3 separate regions of the Homo sapiens genome follow, and all the other regions are linked to region 3. The links are contacts of gene promoters, found by promoter capture Hi-C in human tissues and cell types (Jung and others, 2019). All regions are on one chromosome and are shown on one strand. The core of a region is centred on a gene start or on the middle of the fragment in contact, and the rest is flanking DNA. Distances in the headings are between cores, read along the strand shown.

What was found. Contacts are between HindIII fragments. The study calls those that stand out against the background at their distance.
Region 1: a contact is called between a fragment that was not itself captured here and the fragment with the promoter of C8B in region 3, in 1 of the 25 tissues and cell types used here (hippocampus).
Region 2: a fragment that was not itself captured here is called in contact with the fragment with the promoter of C8B in region 3 in 1 of the 25 tissues and cell types used here (IMR-90 fibroblasts).

What each region holds. Positions count from the first base shown.
Region 1 is chr1:58,537,434-58,540,410 of GRCh38, forward strand. OMA1 (OMA1 zinc metallopeptidase) reads right to left here. Exons shown (of 9, transcript NM_145243.5): 2 at 1,362-1,877. The coding sequence starts at 1,861. It also overlaps a transcript of DAB1 not described here. Among named protein-coding and RNA genes, the nearest start is that of OMA1, 7.8 kb to the right of the region's middle. The HindIII fragment of the contact is 4,039 bases long and covers 1-2,977 here.
Region 2 is chr1:58,450,975-58,454,373 of GRCh38, forward strand. It overlaps a transcript of DAB1 not described here. Among named protein-coding and RNA genes, the nearest start is that of OMA1, 94 kb to the right of the region's middle. The HindIII fragment of the contact is 5,428 bases long and covers 1-3,399 here.
Region 3 is chr1:56,964,377-56,967,738 of GRCh38, forward strand. It overlaps C8B (complement C8 beta chain), which reads right to left and starts at 1,639. Exons shown (of 12, transcript NM_000066.4): 1 at 1,481-1,639. The coding sequence starts at 1,572. The region is part of intron 1 of LOC112267900 (a long non-coding RNA gene); the gene reads left to right. The HindIII fragment of the contact is 9,311 bases long and covers 1-3,362 here.

The DNA of each region.
Region 1 (2,977 bases), core at 423-2,922, 1.6 Mb after region 3:
TTTACAACGTGAAAAAGGAGAGATAACAAGATCCTAGGTATTCATAAGAAAGTGGGAGATTTTATAGATAACATCTGAGAAGGTCCAATTTCTACCAGGCAACAATACTCTCTGCCACTTAGCAGTGTTCAGAAACATTTTGACAACAAGCAATGTTTTCAATACTGGGACAAAAATTTTCCTTATGAGTTGATCTGTAAAATCACAACAAAAATTTACCATATATACATCATTCTCTTGACAAAAATTTATTTTACAAATTCTTAAAGTTCTCTTTGTGAAGTGACACACCCCAATGCCTTTACACAAAGTGTGTCCATTTAAAGGGACATAAATCAAACTATCGAGTATACTTATTTCCTATTTAAAACTTTACATGACATTATCCTTTATTTAAAATGTATGAAAGACATATTCTAAATGAAAAATTTTAGGTGATCAACAATAGTAACAAAAACAAGAAAGTTACAAATAAATAATTTAAAAGGATGAGGACATAGCAGAAATCAGAAAGAGCATCCGAAGAACCTGGGATGAGCGTATTACTTCAACCAATAGTCAATACAGCTGTATCGCTTTTGGGTGCCAACACCAAATCATGAAAAACACAATAAGTTACAAATAGAAGTTCTTGGTTTTTGATCAAAAGCAAACTGGTTTGGTTCATGTGGTAGTAAGAAGGCTAGAAGGGACTTCACAGTCATCAAACACAAGAAAGCTTTATGAAGAAACAGTGATTAGCTTTCTTCCATCTTCATAAAACAAACAAGAGAAAAAGGGTTAAAGCACTACAAGCTGTGAAAATATTATTATAAAGGATCACCAAGGAAAAAAACAAAGATTTGTTGGGAACAGAATAGAAAGAAAAGAAGCATTAATGACTTAAGAGTTAACTAGGAGTGAGCCCACCCTTATATAAGCAAAGTTCCTCAATTTTATGATTTGCTGCCTTAAATTCCACAAATTAAAAAGAAATGTTTGTAAGTACTCTTCTTATACATAAGTGATAACCAGCACTTCTGATCCATATATCCTAAGATTTTGTAGTCATAAATATAAGATTTTTTTAATGCCTATACAAAATGTAAGAATAACTTTTTAAAGAGATATTTCTATACCATAAATTAGTATGCAGGAAATTGTTTCAAGATTATTAAATCATACAGAACAAAATTGGGCAGGACCTACTGTTTAGAAACTTCACTTTGAGCTAAATGGGGGGAGACAGGGGATCTGGCAAGGTTTCTTTAAAAGTACAGTTTTATAAATAAAAAAATTAATTTCTAAAAGTTAATACGTTAGCACAAAATATTAATGCAAAAAGTTAATATAAAAGTTTTTATTCTAAAAAAGCATTTTACCTGCCTACAATGATTGCAAATAACTTCTGTACTGGTTTAAGAATCATCAACAAGAGAGGAACCGGAGCAGCTTGAAACCGTGGAGAAGTATGGAAATTCCTAATAGCTCTTATGGAAGCAGGGCTTAGAGGATGCAATACTGACAGACTAGGGACTGCTGTAACTTCTTTTATTAGCAGCTGTCTTGAAAAAGCATCATTCCATACAGTACATTTGCTGGTAATCCTCCAAATTTCCTTACTTTTGGTACTTGAGAGGCCTCCTGTTCTTTTGTTGTTAAAAGTACTATAAAAATGAAAGTTTCCAGGCAGAAAACTCCACCTGTCACACTGATTTACTCCCAGTCCCTGATACTTATTTACTATATGGTTAACTTGTACTTGATGACAGCCCCGTGAGGTGGATGCTAATGTGTTACATTTTCTCCAGTTAGACAGTGAATTAAATCGGAAGAAAACATGGTTTCTAGCAGCAGACTGCAATCCACAGATGAAGCTCATTTTTTCACTTGACTACCTGAAACAAAAAAAAAACTATAAATATCTGTGGAAAATATTTACTTACCAAACTGGGACTATAACACTTATTAAATAGGCGTGTCAGTTGTTCTTCTAACACATCTCAGGCTAAATTACCTTGGGTTTCAACTCATCACCCCTAGAGCAACGCCTTTCAGCAAGATAAACCAGAGTATATATACCACGATATTTACTATGCAACGTTTACTTTAGAAGCTTGAATTTTTTTCATTTCATTTTTAATTTTTAGTTAGGGAAGAGCCATTTGTATTTTAATGGCAAATGATTTGAGCAATAAAGTGGATTAGATAAAAACAACAGTAAAACTTTATCAGTTTGCAATAACTGGAAGGAAGCATGTGATACAGAATAGTAAAATCTAACTTATAAAATGCACTGGACATTACGCAATGAAGAACAGTGATCCCTAACAGATGGGAAACAGAGCCCTACAACTGTCCTAGCTTATTGCCTGGAGAGTGCTTCCAGGCCACAATGCAGACAGGGTAAACCTAGGTGGAGCCCAGTGGTTCCCCTAAATCGAAGAGATAAAGCTGGGAGGTCAAGTAAACCAAGGTTGCTAGAGCTCACAGGACAGAGGACAAGAGAAGACAAGAGCTGCACAGAGAAATAACTCTAGAGTTCTGCAGAGAATCCCCCTCCCATATTCAGCTGAGTCCTGTCTGGGCATATGTGTAAGAAAATTCCCTGGAGCTGGGAAAGGGCCACCTGAAAAGATTGCAGGGAATAATATACAGGGCTCACACAGGGCATGGTATACTGCCTATCCCCTCCCCACCATTCAAAGTGGAAAACCTTATCATTCGTGGGTAGAGTACTCAGAAGGGTTTTGCCTCAACATTAGAGAAAGATTAGTCTGAGACCGAAAGCTGCTCTGGCCCCACCTAACAAATATTAAAAGCAACCCCCAAAAAGATTAAATGCTTCCAAGCAACAACTGCATCCCAGGAAAAAAAAAAAATCTAAACAGGTATTAGGACACAAAACTATTTAACACTTAACAAGGTGCAATTTATAATTAAAAATCACCAAGCATGCAAGCAGCAAGATATGTGATCCACAATTAGAAGAAATATC
Region 2 (3,399 bases), core at 847-3,346, 1.5 Mb after region 3:
GGTACTCACCAAAATTGCCAAGGTCAGGAAAAACAAGGAAAGCCTGAGAAAGTGTTACAAATCAGAGGAGACCAAGGAGACACAATAACTTTCTAATTTTTTAAATTTTTATTAATTTAATTTTATTTTTTCAGGGATATGATTTTGCTCTGTCACTCAGGGTGGAATGCCATGATGCAATCACGACTCACTGCAGCCTCAGCCTCCTAGACTCAAGCAATCCTCCCGCCTTAGCCTCCCAAGTAGAGGGGACGGTAGGCACATGCCATACACCCAGCTAATTTTTTATTTTGATTTTTTGTAGAGGCAAGGTCTCACTGTTTGCCCAGGCTGATCTCGACCTCCTGGGCTCAAGCGACCCTCCCACCTTAGTCTCCCAAAGTGCTGGGGTTACAGGCGTGAGCCACTGAGCCCATCCCTGACACATGATAACTAAATGTAATAAGAAATCCTGAATTGGATCCTAGAGGAGAAAAAAGTCTTTAGTGAAGAAATGGGTGGATCCAAATTAAAGTCTGTAATTTGGTTAATAGTATTGTGCCAGTATTAATTTCTTAGTGTTGACAACATATCATGATAATGTAAGATGTGAACATCAGGGGAAAATGGGTGAAGGATACATGAGAACGCCCTGAATACATAAAGTTATTCCAAAATAAAAAGTATATTTTAAAAGATAAAGGACAAGAAAAGACATACTATACAAATACTGATCATAAGAAAGCTAGACGGGCTTTAGTAAACATCAGGATAGAAAAAAATACCAAAGATAAACAGAGGGAAACACAGTTAATGATAAATGGAGCAATAGAAAACAAACGACAAGTTAAGACTGGAAGAAAATATTTGCAGCTCACATACTCAGTGTAAGACTTATATTCAGAAAAATATAAAGAAGTCTCAAATCTCAACAGTAAGAAGCAAAGCATCCACTTTTTTTCTTTCCTTTTTTTTTTTTTTTTGACGGAGTTTCACTCTTGTTGCCCAGACTGGAGTGCAATGGCACGATCTCCGCTCACTGCAACCTTTGTGCCCCACCGCCCCGCCCCCTGGGTTCAAGCGATTCTCTTGCCTTAGCCTCCTGAGTGGCTGGGATTACAGGTGCGAGCCAACACGTCAGGCCAATTTTTGTGTTTTTAGTTGAGAGGGGGGTTTCGCCACGTTGGTCAGGCTGGTCTCGAACTCCTGACCTCAGATGATCCACCCACCTTGGCCTTCCAAAGTGCTAGGATTACAGGCGTGAGCCACTGCACCTGGCCTGCATCCTTTTTTTTTAAAGGGCAAAAAAAGAGACACTTTACCAAAGAAATTATTCATATGGCACATATGCACATAAAAGATGTTAAACATTATCAGCCCCTAGGAAAATGCAAATTAAAATCACAATGAGATAGAGATACCATTATAACCCTATGAAAATGGCTAAAAAAAAAAGAAGACAAAGCCACATGTTCACGATGATGTGGGCCAACTGGAACTTTCATTCACTGCTGGTGGAAATGCAACATCACAGAGCCACTCTGCAAAAAAGTCTACAGTTTCATACAAAGCTAAACCAGGCGCAGTGGCTCACGCCTGTAATCCCAGCACTTTGGGAGGCCAAGGCAGGCGGATCACCTGAGGTCAGGAGTTCAAGACCAGCCTGGCCAACGTGGTGAAACCCCATCTCTACAAAAATACCAAAAAAAAAAAAAAAAAAAAATTAGCTGGGCATGATGGTGGGTGCCTGTACTACTCCCAGCTACTCAGAGGCTGACGCGGGAGAATCACTTGAACCCGGGAGGTGGAGGTTGCGGTGAGCCACGATTAAGCAACTGTACTCCAGCCTGGGCGACAGAGAGAGACTCCATCTCAAAAAAACAAAAAACAAAAAACAAAACAAAAAAAAAACAAAGCTAAACCTACACTTGCCATACAGCTCAGCAGTCCCATTCCTAGGTAATTAAAGTGAAAAAATGAAAAAGTATATTCACACAAAATCCTGTACATAAATGGTATAACTTCTCTTTTCATAATTACCAAACACTGGAAACAATGCGGCGTGGATAAACACATTGCAGTTTATCCATACGATGGGATACTACTTAGCAATTAAAAACAACAACAAACAACATGGATGAATCTCAAAGGCATCGTGCTGAGTGAAAAGACCATCTCAAAAGATACCGTGCATGATTCCATTTATATGACCTTCCGGAAAAGGTAAAACACTAGTGAGAGAGAACTAGTGATCACCGGGGGGTAGAGGTGGGGGAGTGTGAAGCACTCAAAGCAAAGGGGCACAGGGAGTTTTGGGGGTGACAGGCTCCTCTGTGTCCTGAAGGTGATGGTAGTGTCACTAATCTATACATGTTTACCCAGGGAAAGGAAGTCGACTTGACTGCATGTAAGCTCATATAATAATTATAATTGAGAACAGCAATAATAACAATGGTGAATGGCTATATTCCTACTCGCGAGTCTTTGCTCACACTGTCCCAACCTGAAAGGATCTCCTTCACTCCTGTCAGCCTATCTGTAGCAATCTCAACTAATTACTGGAATCCTGCCTCTCGAAATTCCTCTCCTTTTGAATCTCACTGGCCCAGGTGGCCCGTGACCCGAGGCGTGCTGCAAAGGCTTTGTGAAATAAGCCCCTCTGGAGTCAACCTCCTTGATGCGCTGGGGATGCCATCCTTGCCTCTGCAGAAACACTTCTCACTGCCCTCAGGTGCTCTCCAAGGGCTGCAGCTACCTCGGGTTCTGTTTCCACCAAGATTCTTGGCTGTATGGAGGAAAACCTCCCCCACCTTGCACTAGCTTTAGTAGAAGGCATTTATTGATTGTAGGACTTCACAAAGATCTCACAGAACCTGTGAGAGAAAACTGAGGAGAGTCAGGACTCAGGAATGGAGACCTGACCTCTAGCTCCCAGGCCTGCCCAGCCTCTCCTTTTCCCCATGGGTCTGCTCCAAGCCCTGGCTCTCCCTCACACCTGCTTTCTCCTGCTTGCACATCAGCTTGTACAAGGCCCCCAAGTCTTCCAGCTCCACATCACCTCCGTGCTACACACTAGCAGCAGTCTCTTTAAGTTTTCGATACCAAATCTTGGAGAGAAATATCAATTGGCTCAGCCCAACTTTTTAAATCTGCTACACAATTCTGGGCTTCGACTGGGCATTCACCTCTGGCCCAATTAGCAATTGGATAAAGAACGGGATCAAATGGCCTATGAGCTGCTCCATCGAGGGGCTGTGGCAAGAGCAGGCAATACAATAATTGCCTCTGGAATTAACTCACAGAAATGGCAGGCTACAAACACACAGCTCTCCCTGGGATGCAAAGTCAAGACTACACGTCCAGCTGCAGGAGCAACTGCAGTTTGGGGGCAGCCAGTGAAGCCTCATCTTCAGACCCATT
Region 3 (3,362 bases), core at 389-2,888:
CATGATGCCTGTTCACTCCTACTCTATCTCATCCCTCTCAACTTCCTGCCGGGACCTGTGTTCAAGGCCCACTGAGGTGTCTGGAAGCTTCAGGAGCAAGCCAGCTCTCTCACACTCACGCACCGTTGCCTGTGCTGCTCCCTCTACCTGGCACACCTTTCAACCCCTTAGCCATTCGGCAAACACCCACGCACCTGTAGAGATTCAGCCCTCACACTCTCTGTTCTAGAAGCCTTTCCAGGCCCTATGCCCTGTAGAGCTGATCATTCCCTCCTTGTTTCCTGGCTGCCCCGTAGCATCTTTTGTAACGGTACACATAGCATATGCTCACATGTTGGCATTCTTTGTGAGAACATAGGCTCATCTCTGTATCCTCAGAGCCCAACAGAAAGCTCCACCCAGGGGCACAATGCTATAGATAGGGTTGCTATGGTTCCCTTAAGTCCTCCATTCCGGAGACATTTTCTTGGGTCCTGAATGCTTCTCTGTGTACACACAGTACACACAAGGAAGGTCTTGGCAGCTTAGTTATTCTCTGGGCTAAATGGAGTTTCTTGATCATCCTAATAGCTGTTACTTATTGAGTGGCCAATAGATAGTGAACGAATGCTCATCATCCTGTGGTTCCTAATGGCAGCTCAACAGAACTGAGACCAGAGGCTGTGTCCCATGGGTAGGAGGTACTCCTCACATAAAGTGAAAGGTTTGTTCAGATCTCATTTTTGGACTAAGTAAAAGGAATGGAATTACAGTCCCTCTTCCCACAGGAGTGTTTACATGGAGGCCGGGGACACATGCACACTTCAACATCTCATGGCAGGGGTTTCTCATGCACACGGAGCATCCCCACATTGCTACGTCACTGGCTCTTCTATCACTGGAGCCCAAGTTTGAGCTCCCACTAGGATATTTTCTTTAGCTTGTTTTGCACCTTGTTAATGGAGACTAACAATGATGAAATAAATCAGCCAGCATTTAACTGCTGGGAACCTTGTGGGGGGTGAGAGAGAGAGAGAGAGAGAGTGTGTGTGTGTGTGTGTGTGTGTGTAAGAAGGGGGTGGGAAAGAACCTGAGAATCTGAAGATTTGGGGTTGATGAGCAGGTAGAGTAGGTCAATCTCATTTATTAAAATCATTTCATGAATTTGCTCTTTTGTCCTCTGTATGTAACAAACTTTCTTTTTCATAAAGAATCACACGGAGGCTTTGTTCAGAATACAGAAAAAATATCCTATTCTTCTCAGCATGACAAAATACATTTAAACCTGTCAGTTTCTTACAGGAACTTTTGTTGAAATCAGCTACTTGGTTCCACAATAATTTGAAAAGAGTTGTTGATAGTATGTTATCAGATGCATGCAAATTGCCTTAAGAGACGTTCCTCATTCAATAGGCATGCAACAAAGAGATGGTCAGCATCATGTGGCTGCACCTTCCCTGTCATATTATTGATCAGGGAATTATTGGTAACTGTCACTTACCTGGAGCCAGGCAAACTGAGACAGCCCAGGGCAGCACAGAGAAGAAATAGCTCCACCGGCGCCCTCCAAGCCCATGTCCTGGAATTCTTCATTTTCCCAATGTGACAGGAGATGCCACAGAGGCTGCTAGACCCATAACAAGCCTGTGCTGTGAGTGCCACTGTCAGCTTCTGTCCCCAAGAGCAAATAGCTCTGCAAAGTAAACAGAAAGCCACTAGTGACTGGAAACAGACTTTGCACAGACCAAAAACTTACCTGTCACTCTGGAAACCAACCAGAATAATGAAAAATCTGTAGCAGCATGGTGTTTATTCCTCTGTAACTTTAGGGTAAGCTGCCAAGTGGACAGGCTATTAGTGAGGTGGCAAGGACTGTGGGATCTAGGTCTAGACAGCCTGGGTTCAAGTACATTCTCTGCCACTGACTAGGTTGGTGCAAAAGTAATTGCAGTTTTTGTCATTGCTTTTAATGGCAAAAACCACAATTACTTTTGCACCAACCTAACAGCTTTGGACTATGGGCAAGTTGCTTTACTTCTGTGCCTTACTCTCCTTACTTGCTAAGTGGTGAGAATTAAACACGTTAATATAAGGAAATGTTTAGAACAGGCCTATGTTCAGCGCTCAGATATGTCAGCTATTATTACTTAGTAGAATTCAGGGTTTGGAGTCAGACAGGCCAAGGTTTGAATTCCATGTTTGCCTCTTTCCAGTTACATGATGTTGAGCAAGTCAGTAAGAGGCTGTAGGGCTCTAGAACCCATCTACCTGACTTCAAATTGCTTCTGTATGATTCACCAGCTGTGTGGCCAGAGAAAATTACTAACCCTCTCTGGGCCTAAGTTCCTTCATCAATAAAACAGGGATAATAATAATACCAACCTCACCGGGTTGTTGTGAAGATTAAATAAATTAGATTATTATTAATTATTATTGTAATTATAATTAATTATAATTATTATTATTAAATAAATTAGATTTATTTAATCTTCACAACATGTTCAAAACATGTTGAACATTGCCTGGCACATTCTATGTGCACTCTCTATAAGTGAGCTGGTATTTTTATTGACTGTCTCTGATTCTGTTTCTTCATATGTAAAATTAGGAGGACTATGACAACTTACCACTCACAGTTGGGAGAGTCAGACCAAATACTAAATGTGTAATTGTTGAACAAATAGGCATTATAGAAATAACTACATGACACTTTGGGAGGCCGCGGCGGGCGGACCACGAGGTCAGGAAATCGAGACCATCCTGGCTAACATGGTGAAACCCCGTCTCTACCAAAAATACAAAAAAAATTAGCCAGGCATGGTGTTGGGCGCCTGTAGTCCCAGCTACTCGGGAGGCTGAGGCAGGAGAATGGCGTGAACCTGGGAGGCAGAGCTTGCAGTGAGCCGAGATCGCGCCACTGCACTCCAGCCTGGGTGACAGAGCGAGACTCCGTCTCAAAATAAAACAAAACAAAACAAAACAAAAAAAACCCAGGAAATAACTACATGAAAATAATTATCTAAATATATATGTGCTGTTGTTGTTATTGTTTGCATCCCAAAAGATACAAATGACTGAGGTTCTCAAACCTACCTTCCTGAAAACCATCCCTGACTCCCCAGAATCAACATATTAAAGTCCAAACTGCACCAACCTGGCATTTACAAAACCAACCTGCAACGCATAAAGGGCTGAGTCCACGTGTTGGATGGCGTCCTGTTGCTTTTGCTATTGCAGATGTGGGTGAGGAACCTCACATGGGAGAGGCAGCTTGCAAGGTATGAGGGTGGGCTAGTAGAAAGAACACTGGATTTGCTTTCCTTAAACACAGTTACAGAGTTTCTCTAAGACTCTGTTTTCTCATCTGTGAAATAGGGATAATA